2 separate regions of the Homo sapiens genome follow, and region 1 is linked to region 2. Evidence: promoter capture Hi-C in 16 types of primary human blood cells and fetal thymus (Javierre and others, 2016). All regions are on one chromosome and are shown on one strand. The core of a region is centred on a gene start or on the middle of the fragment in contact, and the rest is flanking DNA. Distances in the headings are between cores, read along the strand shown. Region 1 overlaps GMDS (GDP-mannose 4,6-dehydratase). Region 2 holds the start of MYLK4 (myosin light chain kinase family member 4).

What was found. Contacts are between HindIII fragments. The CHiCAGO score rates a contact against its expected background, and 5 or more counts as called.
Region 1: a fragment that was not itself captured here is called in contact with the fragment with the promoter of MYLK4 in region 2 in 1 of 17 cell types (M1 macrophages); the score reaches 5.0 in M1 macrophages.

What each region holds. Positions count from the first base shown.
Region 1 is chr6:2,100,540-2,105,784 of GRCh38, forward strand. The region is part of intron 4 of GMDS (GDP-mannose 4,6-dehydratase); the gene reads right to left. Among named protein-coding and RNA genes, the nearest start is that of GMDS, 140 kb to the right of the region's middle. The HindIII fragment of the contact is 318 bases long and covers 3,719-4,036 here.
Region 2 is chr6:2,749,476-2,754,362 of GRCh38, forward strand. MYLK4 (myosin light chain kinase family member 4) reads right to left here and starts at 1,447. Exons shown (of 13, transcript NM_001012418.5): 1 at 1,261-1,447. RefSeq lists a silencer at 3,020-3,314. The HindIII fragment of the contact is 6,360 bases long and covers 1,116-4,887 here.

The sequences.
Region 1 (5,245 bases), core at 2,628-5,127, 650 kb before region 2:
GTAAATAAACTACAGATTATTCCGTAAAATATTTTGTATGTGGCAACAAACATATGCCTTTAAGTTTGACTAATACAAATGGAAGACTATTAATAAAAACTAAATGACAGCAACAAAATCTATATCACTGACGAGTCAAGATAGTATACATAGCATCAGATCATAGAGCTAATGTTAAAAAAACTCAAACATGTGATAGGGGCACTACACAAAATGTCATGTGCTAACATCTGGAATTAAGATTACTTACAGTGGAAAAAATAAAACGTCCCCGAAAAGTGAAGGCACGCATTAAATCTTGGCACTCTTTTTATAGTTGTTTTACATATAGAAATGTAATTCTTACAAAGAACTAATTTCACTAAAGGTTACAATTGTACTAGTATTTTCTGTAAGAATGCAAGAAAATGAGTAAGATTAGTCAAAACTCTGTTAACTTCTATGTTATTATGAAAGATATTGCAATTTTTGTATTAAACATTTCATGTGCCTATGACCTGACATTACTGAGATTTTTTTTTTAAAAAGTGAGCATTTAAGTGTCAAAATTTTACTGAAAAGTTTTTACTGAAAGTACTAATTTAGTATGTAATTTATGTTACATTATAAAAAACAGTTTTTTACTGGCTAGGAACTAAAAATCTCTGACCAGATAAGGGTTTAACCGGGATGTTTCTGTTGTAGTTAAAACACATCTTTTCCCAAGTGATAGAACTTGGGAAAGTTCTTAGGAAATTCTTTCATAAGTAGCATGGTAAAAAAACACTAAAAAAACAAAAAACAAAAAAAAGAGAGAAAATAAAAAATGAAATTTCAGTAAAGCTTTTCAGAAGAAAAAACACAAGAAAAAGGGACAAACTAATATTTCACACATTGGAAATCCAGTAACTGCTTTATGGATTAGTCTCTGGATCCTGTGCCAACAAAGTTGCACCACCAAGAATCATCATCATGTAAGATGGTTCAACCTGATAAGTGGAATCCCCAGTTAGAAACTGAGAGAAAGAGAAAAGAATCTCCCACGAAATGAGAGAAAGTATATCAAATCTATCTGAAACCATTCCTCAAGAAAGACGAAATATGAGCAATACATTTATGAACTTATGTGTTTATCTAAAATAAAGACACAAACTGTGGGGGAAAAAAGGCAATTAAATTTAGCGCCAAAATTGAACTTTAGGGCATTTATATTACACAAATTTTTCCACTAACCATTAACACTTCATTGAAAAACAATGGCCACATGAGAAAACATACTTCGTGATTACATGCAATCATCTATCAATTTAAATAATTTTCAAAGTATCTATATATGTTTAAATATTTTACATCAGATAAAAGAAAGGACAATTTGGACATAAAGGAAAATCTAAGTATCATAAGCACAAAACTTTGGTATTTTAACCTCAAACAACAGTGTGCGCTCTAGTTTATTAATCAACAGGAATGCTACTTAATTAACCATGTGAAAGTTAAAGTAAGTAAGAAAGACAAACAAGGCAAGTATTACTTAAGCTATTATTATACTACACTGGAAATTTTTCAAATATCTAAGATTTTGTAAGATGTAGTCACGTAAACAAATGTAAAGCCATCATAAATTAAAATTGGTTATAAAATGCCAATAAAACATTGAAGTCCCCTATAATTCATACAAAATCTGTTTTTAGACTTTAAAAAGGGCATCAAAAACTATAAAGTGTATCATTTTTAAAAGCCCATTTAAAAATTATAAGCAAATTGAAAAAAATGTTATTAATTATCCAACATTTAATTATTCATGCAAAATATTTATAAAATATTGTCAAGGAAAATAAATGTTCTAGTGCTAATATGAAGAAAATTAATATGCTGGTTTTTAAAAAAAGTTTTAAAACAATATTCTTCAGTTAGTAAGCAACACAAATCACTTAGATTTGCCTGCTTGAGACACGATTCTTTTGAAACCAAGCAATTGAAGGAAATGGTGTTGCAATACTGTCCGTTTAATGAAAACCGTGGCAGTGAAAAGGTCACATAAATAATCTGCACGATGTTATTGCATTAAGAAAGTCACAGTCTAAATCTAATGCCTGCCAAAGAGGGGCTAAAAGTGTAAAAGAAAAAGTACGCAGTCACCTGCAAAACATATTATATTCTGATTAAAAGCTGTTTTTAAACAACCTTTTAATCTAAAACCCATTTGCTATCTCAAAAATGACCTATAAAGAAATGTTTATGTAATTGTGACTAATTCAATTATCTTACACCCTGGTTTTAAGAAATATATGATAATGAAAGTTCAACTTATAAAATTCCATTTAATTAAATTAAAAATTCACAAAATTGCAAGATTATGTGTTTAGACATCAGAATTTTCTTTGTCCTTGTTTTCAAACCGCCTACACTACTAAAAATATTAGGGTAACACAGATAATATCTGTGCATACAAACTGAAGTTAACACAGTAGACTGCTTAAAACAGAAAAACTACATACATATCTTCTTTTTCTACTGATATGACAGAGTATAACCAATTAATCATTAATAAGTAACAAGCAACAGCCAGAATATGTTTAATGCTTCATTAAAACAACATTGAGGCCCATTACAGTACACAGCGTACGATGCTGGAAACCACCTTATACCCTCGCAAACCGCATTCCCTTCTAACCTCATTTGGGGGAAGCAGCTAGAGGATGAATGGCAATATGCTCTCAAGTAAGCTTTTATTAAGTATGAGAAATAAATTATATTAAGTGTTATTTTTTGAACTCAGAAATGAGGGAAGGGGTTGTTAAGATATCAAATTTACTAAGAAAATAATTATGTCAGAAATAACGTTGCTGTCACAAGAGAGACTTGCCAGATACTGCTTTTAAGCACGTTGTTATACACACCTTTAGAATAAATTTTGTGACCCAGAGATTAGTCTGTGGTACTAAAATTCCTGAGAGTAGACCAGAAAAAAAATAGAGGGTAGGAGAAATGTTTTCCTAAACAATGTTAGCATTACTCTAGTGGCATTAAGAAGCCCTTATTTCGTTTATAATTAGTAAGATACTGAGGTGATGGGATTGTTAAGGACATGTTACAAATTGCTTTTCTACAACTCACTTCCGAATCTCAGTTTCTACTAAATATGATTCTACTTCATTAGATCCTCATGACTGTGATCTCACCAAATGCAATTCTAAAACTTGAAAATTACCTTGGAAATTTGTGAGAAGCCACAGAAAGGTCCTCGGAAGCACACACATATTAAATATTAATTATAATGATGACTGTCATCTTTTATAGTGATTATGTCATTATTTAGGAATGTTAATTAAGACATAAAATGACTTGTTAATAGCAAATGCATTCTTAAGCAATATATTTGTGCTTGTGCACTTAACAGCAAACCCAGTATGGGGACTGAACCATAATAGACTACAGTTCTATTTTCTAAAATGCTGACATTTGAGCAAACGTTCCCAGGGAATGTTTGCCTGATTCGTGGACTGACATTTCCTCTTTGTAACTTGCTTAACTAAAGAGGAGACATGCAGGCCAAACTCCACAGTGCCCGCAGGCAGCAGGCTATTGCTTGCCGCTGCAACTTGTGCGTGGTTTCTCTTTTACTTCCCTCTGGCCCTACTGCCCCTCAGCCCTTCACTGTCTCTTTATTTTGACATGCATATTATCTTAGCTGATTTCAATCATCTTACAGGAGTGGATGACATACCTTAAAAGATTAAGCTTCCCCACCTGGGATTTGTCCAGAAATTCAGTGTATTACAGCTTCTCAGAGCCTTCTTCGTTCTCCTATATTCTTGTGTTATCAATAGTAGCTTTCTTTCTTATTTTATGTTTAAGTATGAGACACAGGCAGCTATGCTGATGGAGTCAGTTTGTACTGTCACTCATCTTTCACTACAACTGCAAGGTTCACTTCCTTTGTCTAATTCTTTGCTGCCATCTATGTGTATAAAAGAGCACAACATTCTTAAACACACCAGAAACTTCCTCAGTTTCAAAAACAATCATGTCTCTAATCTAGAGGGATGAAGAAGGAAGCTTTAGGGATAATTTGCTTCCCTACACAAACGTAAAGCTTATTGGAAATTTCCATTTCTTTCTCTGTGAAGCAAATTTATAAAACTGAAAAATGACTGAAGTTACATTATTTAACATAATATTATTGAACATAACCAATAGATTTTTTCCATTATTGCTGCTGATAAATTTTAATTTGGCAAATTTGATGAACTTATGCTTGAAAAACAAAAGTTGAAATTTTAAGTCACTTAAGTAAATAATTCCAATAAGATAAATTAATTTTTGCTAAATTGCAATCTAAATATCTTGCCAAATGATAGAGTGAAATGATCACTAAACCTAACCGGGTGCGGTGGCTCACGCCTATAATCCCAGCACTTTGGGAGGCTGAGGCGGGCAGATCACAAAGTCAGGAGATCGAGACCATCCTGGCTAACATGGTGAAACCCCGTCTCTACCAAAAACACAAAAAATTAGCCAGGTGTGGTGGCAGGCACCTGTAGTCCCAGCGACTCGGGAGGCTGAGGCTGGAGAATGGCGTGAACCCGGGAGGCGGAGCTTGCAGTGAGCGGAGATCACGCCACTGCACTCCAGCCTGGGTGACAGAGCGAGACTCCGTCTCAAAAAAAAAAAAAAAAAAAAAAAGAAATGATCACTAAACCAAAACACTTTCCTAATATTTAATATAAAGCAAATGCAAAGCAAACAGATGAAAAAATTATTTACACACATTATGTAAACAACCAATAACTCAAATATTGTGACATAATAATCGACTAACTTCTGTCAAATATTCAAACACTTCTTCTCTAGGGAAGATGGAGAAATGTATCAGACCACACTAAAGAGCCTCTCAGCCTCCCCTTTAGGACTGACCATACTGGCTCTGAATTGTCCTAAGATAAGTTAGTGTCAAACAAACAAATAGAAAGGCACTCTAGTGTGAGCCATATGGGAATGTTACAACAAACAAAAAAACCCTGTCCCCTACACCATGTAACAATTAATCCATGCACTCAGGGTAAAGACTGGTTATTTACCATCAGTACTAATAATGTGGGTTGACAGTCTTGAAGAATGTCCTAAAAGGTTTATTTTGTCAATACCACTAATTTCTAAAAGACTTTACTGTTATATACTAAAAAAATAAAAACCTGGCACCAATGAAATATATGGAATGGGAGTAGAAAAGAAACTCAGGAACAGGTTTTTTTACCCTGATATA
Region 2 (4,887 bases), core at 197-2,696:
AGTGAGAATTTGGAAGTCCCTTCTGTTTAAACTGGAGAGAGGATCCAAAATCAGGAAAAGAAATACTAACATTCATATTGAGTTTCCAACATTGGAACTTTAAAAGGAAAAAAAATTTTTTCACTTTAAAACTACAAAAGCAAACAGTAAGAAGCAATGTCAAGATTCACTGGTGATGAAATATGCTCCTTATTGCACAAAACAAGCCGTAGATCAAGTGGCCAGCTTGGATGTAAATTATAAAGTATCTTTGGGTTTAATTGGAACCGCAGGTTTTGCAGCCCCGTGGGAAGGGCTTATCACAGAAGGGGTCTCTCTGCTTCCCCTGGCCTCCCTCTGCAGAGGGATCGCTCCCGAATGAGTCCTTTTCCAGAACTCTTCTCTACCTATGCCTTAAAATGTGTGGTGTTTATTTGTGAAAAGAAATTTATTTCCTTACAGTCTTCTCACGTGGACAGCACTCCCAGATACCTTTCCTTGCATCTGCATTAACAGCTATGTACCGAGAAGTTCAGAGTCTTTTCACTCTCCTTAAAATACTTTCCTCGCAAATGAAGTAATGCAGCATACATAATTCGCTTTGATACTAGAGACATATACGCATGTCTATATGTACACATCACTTGATTGCATAGAGAGGCAGGGAGAGGGAGAGACATTTGAATTTGTGCTAGTTCCGCATGGCTGACAACTGAGGCCCCCTGGTGGAGATTTTCCGAAAAGCGCCTCTTCGAGCATTTTCTCCGCTTAAAAACCGTATTGTGATTCTCATCAGAAAACTTAATATTTTGTTTTGTCAGTTCCTATAGTAAAATGATACTCTTGAGTTCCAAAGTGTTTAAAATTCACTGCTCTAACAAATTATACTTATCCACATAAAGAGCTTACATTCAAACAAATAAAAATGCAAATATTAATACTATCAACCAGAGCTCTACAGATATATTACAGATCATTCTTAGCATTCTTTCAAATTGCCCTGAAAAAATTATTAAAATAAGGAAACAAATGCATGGCTATTTCTAAGGCAAACTACGACTAAAATACTATGGTTAATTGCAGATGAAACTCAAGTTGGATCAGGAAGCCACACAAAATTAATGTATTAAAACAAAAGCTTAGGATTAAGATACAATAATTTTGCAAAGAAATATTAAACATTAAGCTCTACCTGAAGTTTGGTACAATTTGTTATTGAAGGTAACTTAGAAAAAAGGGGAGGAGATTTGAGAGGTTATAACAATAAACAAAGATAATTACCATTGATAGGATCACATCGAAGAGCTTGAGCCACTCCAAGTCTAGAGCATACATTCCAGAAGATAAAGAGAAATTTTGCAGAATTCAAACTGACTATGAAAGTCTCTGGTAAAAGTTTTGACTCTCAGTCGTATAAATCTTCTGAAAAGACAAGTGTCCACTACGAGAGGAAGTATCTTCTCTCTCAAATGCCACTTTCAGCCCCTGTTTAAATTAATATGGCTCTTGATCTCACGTTGCTCAGCTGTTGCCTTCTTAGTCAGATGGGGAAGAATATTAATTTTAGACACCAGGCTTTTCAAGGCCAATGGCTCCATTTCAGAGGTCAGGTAAGGAGAGGATGAACCGGGAACACTGGATGAAATATCACCTTCACCTTTCCCTCGTATCATTGTGTCAATACTCTCGGATTTACAAAGCTAGATTTGTCCTCGGCAATCATCTGCCTGGACCTTCTGCCCCTTTCAGACTCAGGATTATTTAAGTGCTCATTAAATTTCCCCCAGTAGGGAAAATGCCAGGTGTGGCAACCCCACAGCCACCTCTGTTTGCCCATCTTACGCTTTGAGCATATCCAACTGCAATATAGAAGATCTTCTGAAAGCAGTTAGCAAGTTTGTTTTATTTTTCTCAGTTCTTAAAGATGTTTGCAAAGTCTCCAACCATTTCTAGCTCTAGGGAAAGGTCAAAGGCACAGGCATCCAGGAAACAGGAATAAATTTTTCATAAATTCTCCTTAAGCAACACTAGGACTTCATCCGTAGTTTTCTGCACAGACCAAGAAAGGGGAATTTCAACCCACCTGCCCGACTCTCACAGTAGTGCATCCCTAGATTCACTGAAGTGGCATAAAACTTTGATTGCCCAGAGGCTGGACTTTGCAGTCTTGAAAACCCTGCAATTTTTCAGGGCCTGGCCAATTGTCACCTCTTATTTGGAGCCTGTGTTAGCCCCTCTATGCCCCATTCTAACACCAGCCTCTGCTGCTCTTCTGCTTCTTTTAAAAAAAAAACCTTATTTTTAATTCAGATCGATGCATTCCATGTGAAATAAAAATACATATTTTTCCATTTTATGTAGTATTAATGAATTACAGCAAAATCTTTTTTAAAACACAAAACGCTTGTTATTTTTCAGATTGGAGAGCTTTGTTCTTCAGCAAAAGTAATGAAGTGGAACTATAAATTTGTGGAGATAAATTATCTGACAAAAGTATTATACAAAGACTAAGCTGGTTTGAGGTTACCAATTTTGTTAGTATAATTAAATTGTGTAGAAGTACTGATAAGGCAACAAATGCCCTGCCAGAGGCAAGATGTGTGTGGGCTGCTGCTGATCCAACCACATCCTCCACCCGGACCACCACCACGCAAAAGCAGACTTCCTATCTCGTTGGCTCCAGCAAACCAACCACAGGCTTGAGTGAGCCAGAGGCCAGGAGAATCTGCTCCTTAGCTTATTTTTTTGTAATAAACTTTTCCTTTTAGAGTAGTTTTACATCTACAGAAAAGGTGCAAAGGTAGTTCAGAGTTCCCCTTGCCCTGCACCCCGAATCCTCTGTTTTTAACATCTTACGTTGGTATGGTATACTTGTCACAATTAATGAACCATGGTGAACGTTATTATTAACTAAACTCAATACTTTATTGTTGCTGGGTTTTTTTTTTCCCCAAATGCCCCTTTTCTGTTCCAGAATCCCATGCAGGATTCCACAGTACATTTAGAATCAGTAGGATTTATGATAGATTGGGTATGGGGTATGAAAGAAAGATGGTAGACACCTTTGCATATTTTCTTCTGAGCACTTGAAAGACAGAGTGAACATTAACTGAGATGGAGACGGCTGTGGGAAGGGCAACTCTGGAGGGAAAGGTCAGGCATGAAGTCTTTGGCAAGTCCATTAAACGTTCAAGTTGAATAGGCTGTGGAGATAGAAACTGGAGTTCCGGGGAGGGGTGTAGGCTGGAGATAAGAATTTGGAAGGCATCCACATATAGACATTTCCATGCACAATATACATTCAATACATATTTGATTAATGACTAGATAGAATGATCTTTAATTGTGTCTACTTGCCCTAAAAAGCAAGTCAATTAAAATAATCCATGCTAAAAGTGACTGATTGTCTGGTTCTGCTGCATCACACTGTTCCCAGCTTCCGATGGCATACAGGACAAGCACACTGCTGGCACAACCCTTGACCACAAAAAAACAGGTTATACATGCATACTCATTCTGGTCTATCAGCCTAGCCTCAGGATCCTAAGTCCATACCCATAAAATGTTCTGCATGCTTAAAGATGCTCTTATACCCGGAAAAATTCATTAGTGAGGAATATGAGCAGGCCCAGGAACACTTTTCCAGTATTTCCATATTTTGGAGTTATACTTCTCTAAAAAATACCAACATCAGGAAAACAGCACCCTACAGAGCCATGGAAAAGAATCCCTTGATTTTTTTCAAGGGACATTTCCATTAGCTGAGTAAGAGACTGTGTTGTCAAAGGAGCCACATGAAGAAACATCGTCGACAGCTCTTGTCTACGGGTTGGCATTGAAACCCGGCTGGATTACACTAAGAGTTTTTGTTTCTACACAGCGTTCTGAATGTTTCCAGAACAAGACCTCTTGAATGTTTACACACAAAAGCGGAGCAACAGTACAAATACCCAAATGCAAATAAAAAGCTACTGCATCCCTGTTACCCACATTACAATAGAACTTCCTTACTTTCAAAAATCACCACTGAATACGACCCATAAAAACGAAGATTGATAAATTGCACTTCTTCAAAATTCAAAACGTTTGCCTTTGAAAAAACACTATTAGGAAAATGAAAAGACACTATTATGAAAATGAAAAGACCAGCTACAGATGTATAGAAAATACTGTGAAGTCACATATTTGACAAAGGACTGCATCTAGCATATACAACTTAATAATATATGACAAAACATTCCAGTTTTTTAAATGGACAAAAGATTAAAACAGACCTCACCAAAGAAGATATAAAAATGGTTAATAAGCACATGAAAAAAAATGCTCAAAATCAGTCATCAGGGAGATGCAAATTAAAACCACAAGGAAACATCATTTCACACCCACTAGGAGAGCTGTAATAATAATGAAAAAAATAAAAGATAGGTTGGGTGTGGTGGCTCACACCTGTAATCCTAGCACTTTGGGAGGCCAAGACAGGAGGATCACTTCAGTCCAGGAGTTTGAGACCAGCCTGGGCAACATAGCAAGACCCCATCTCTACCAAAAAAAAAAAAAAAAAGACAGAGAAAAGCAAGTGTTGACAAGGATGTGGAAAAACTGGAACCCTCACCAAATATGTTGATGGGAATATAAAATGATACAGGTGTCTTATAAAAGAGGTTGGCAATTTCTTAAAAAGTTATTTCCCATATGACCTAGAAATTCTTCTCCTAGGTATCTACCCAAGAGAAATGAAAACATATGAACACAGAAACCATGGCACATGAATGTTCACAGCAGCATTATTCACAATAGCCAAAAACTGAAAACAACCAAAATGTCCATCGGATGATTTGGAGACTGGGAAAAGATAATGTGGTATACACATACAAATGGAATACTACGTAATTAAAAGGAATGAAATAC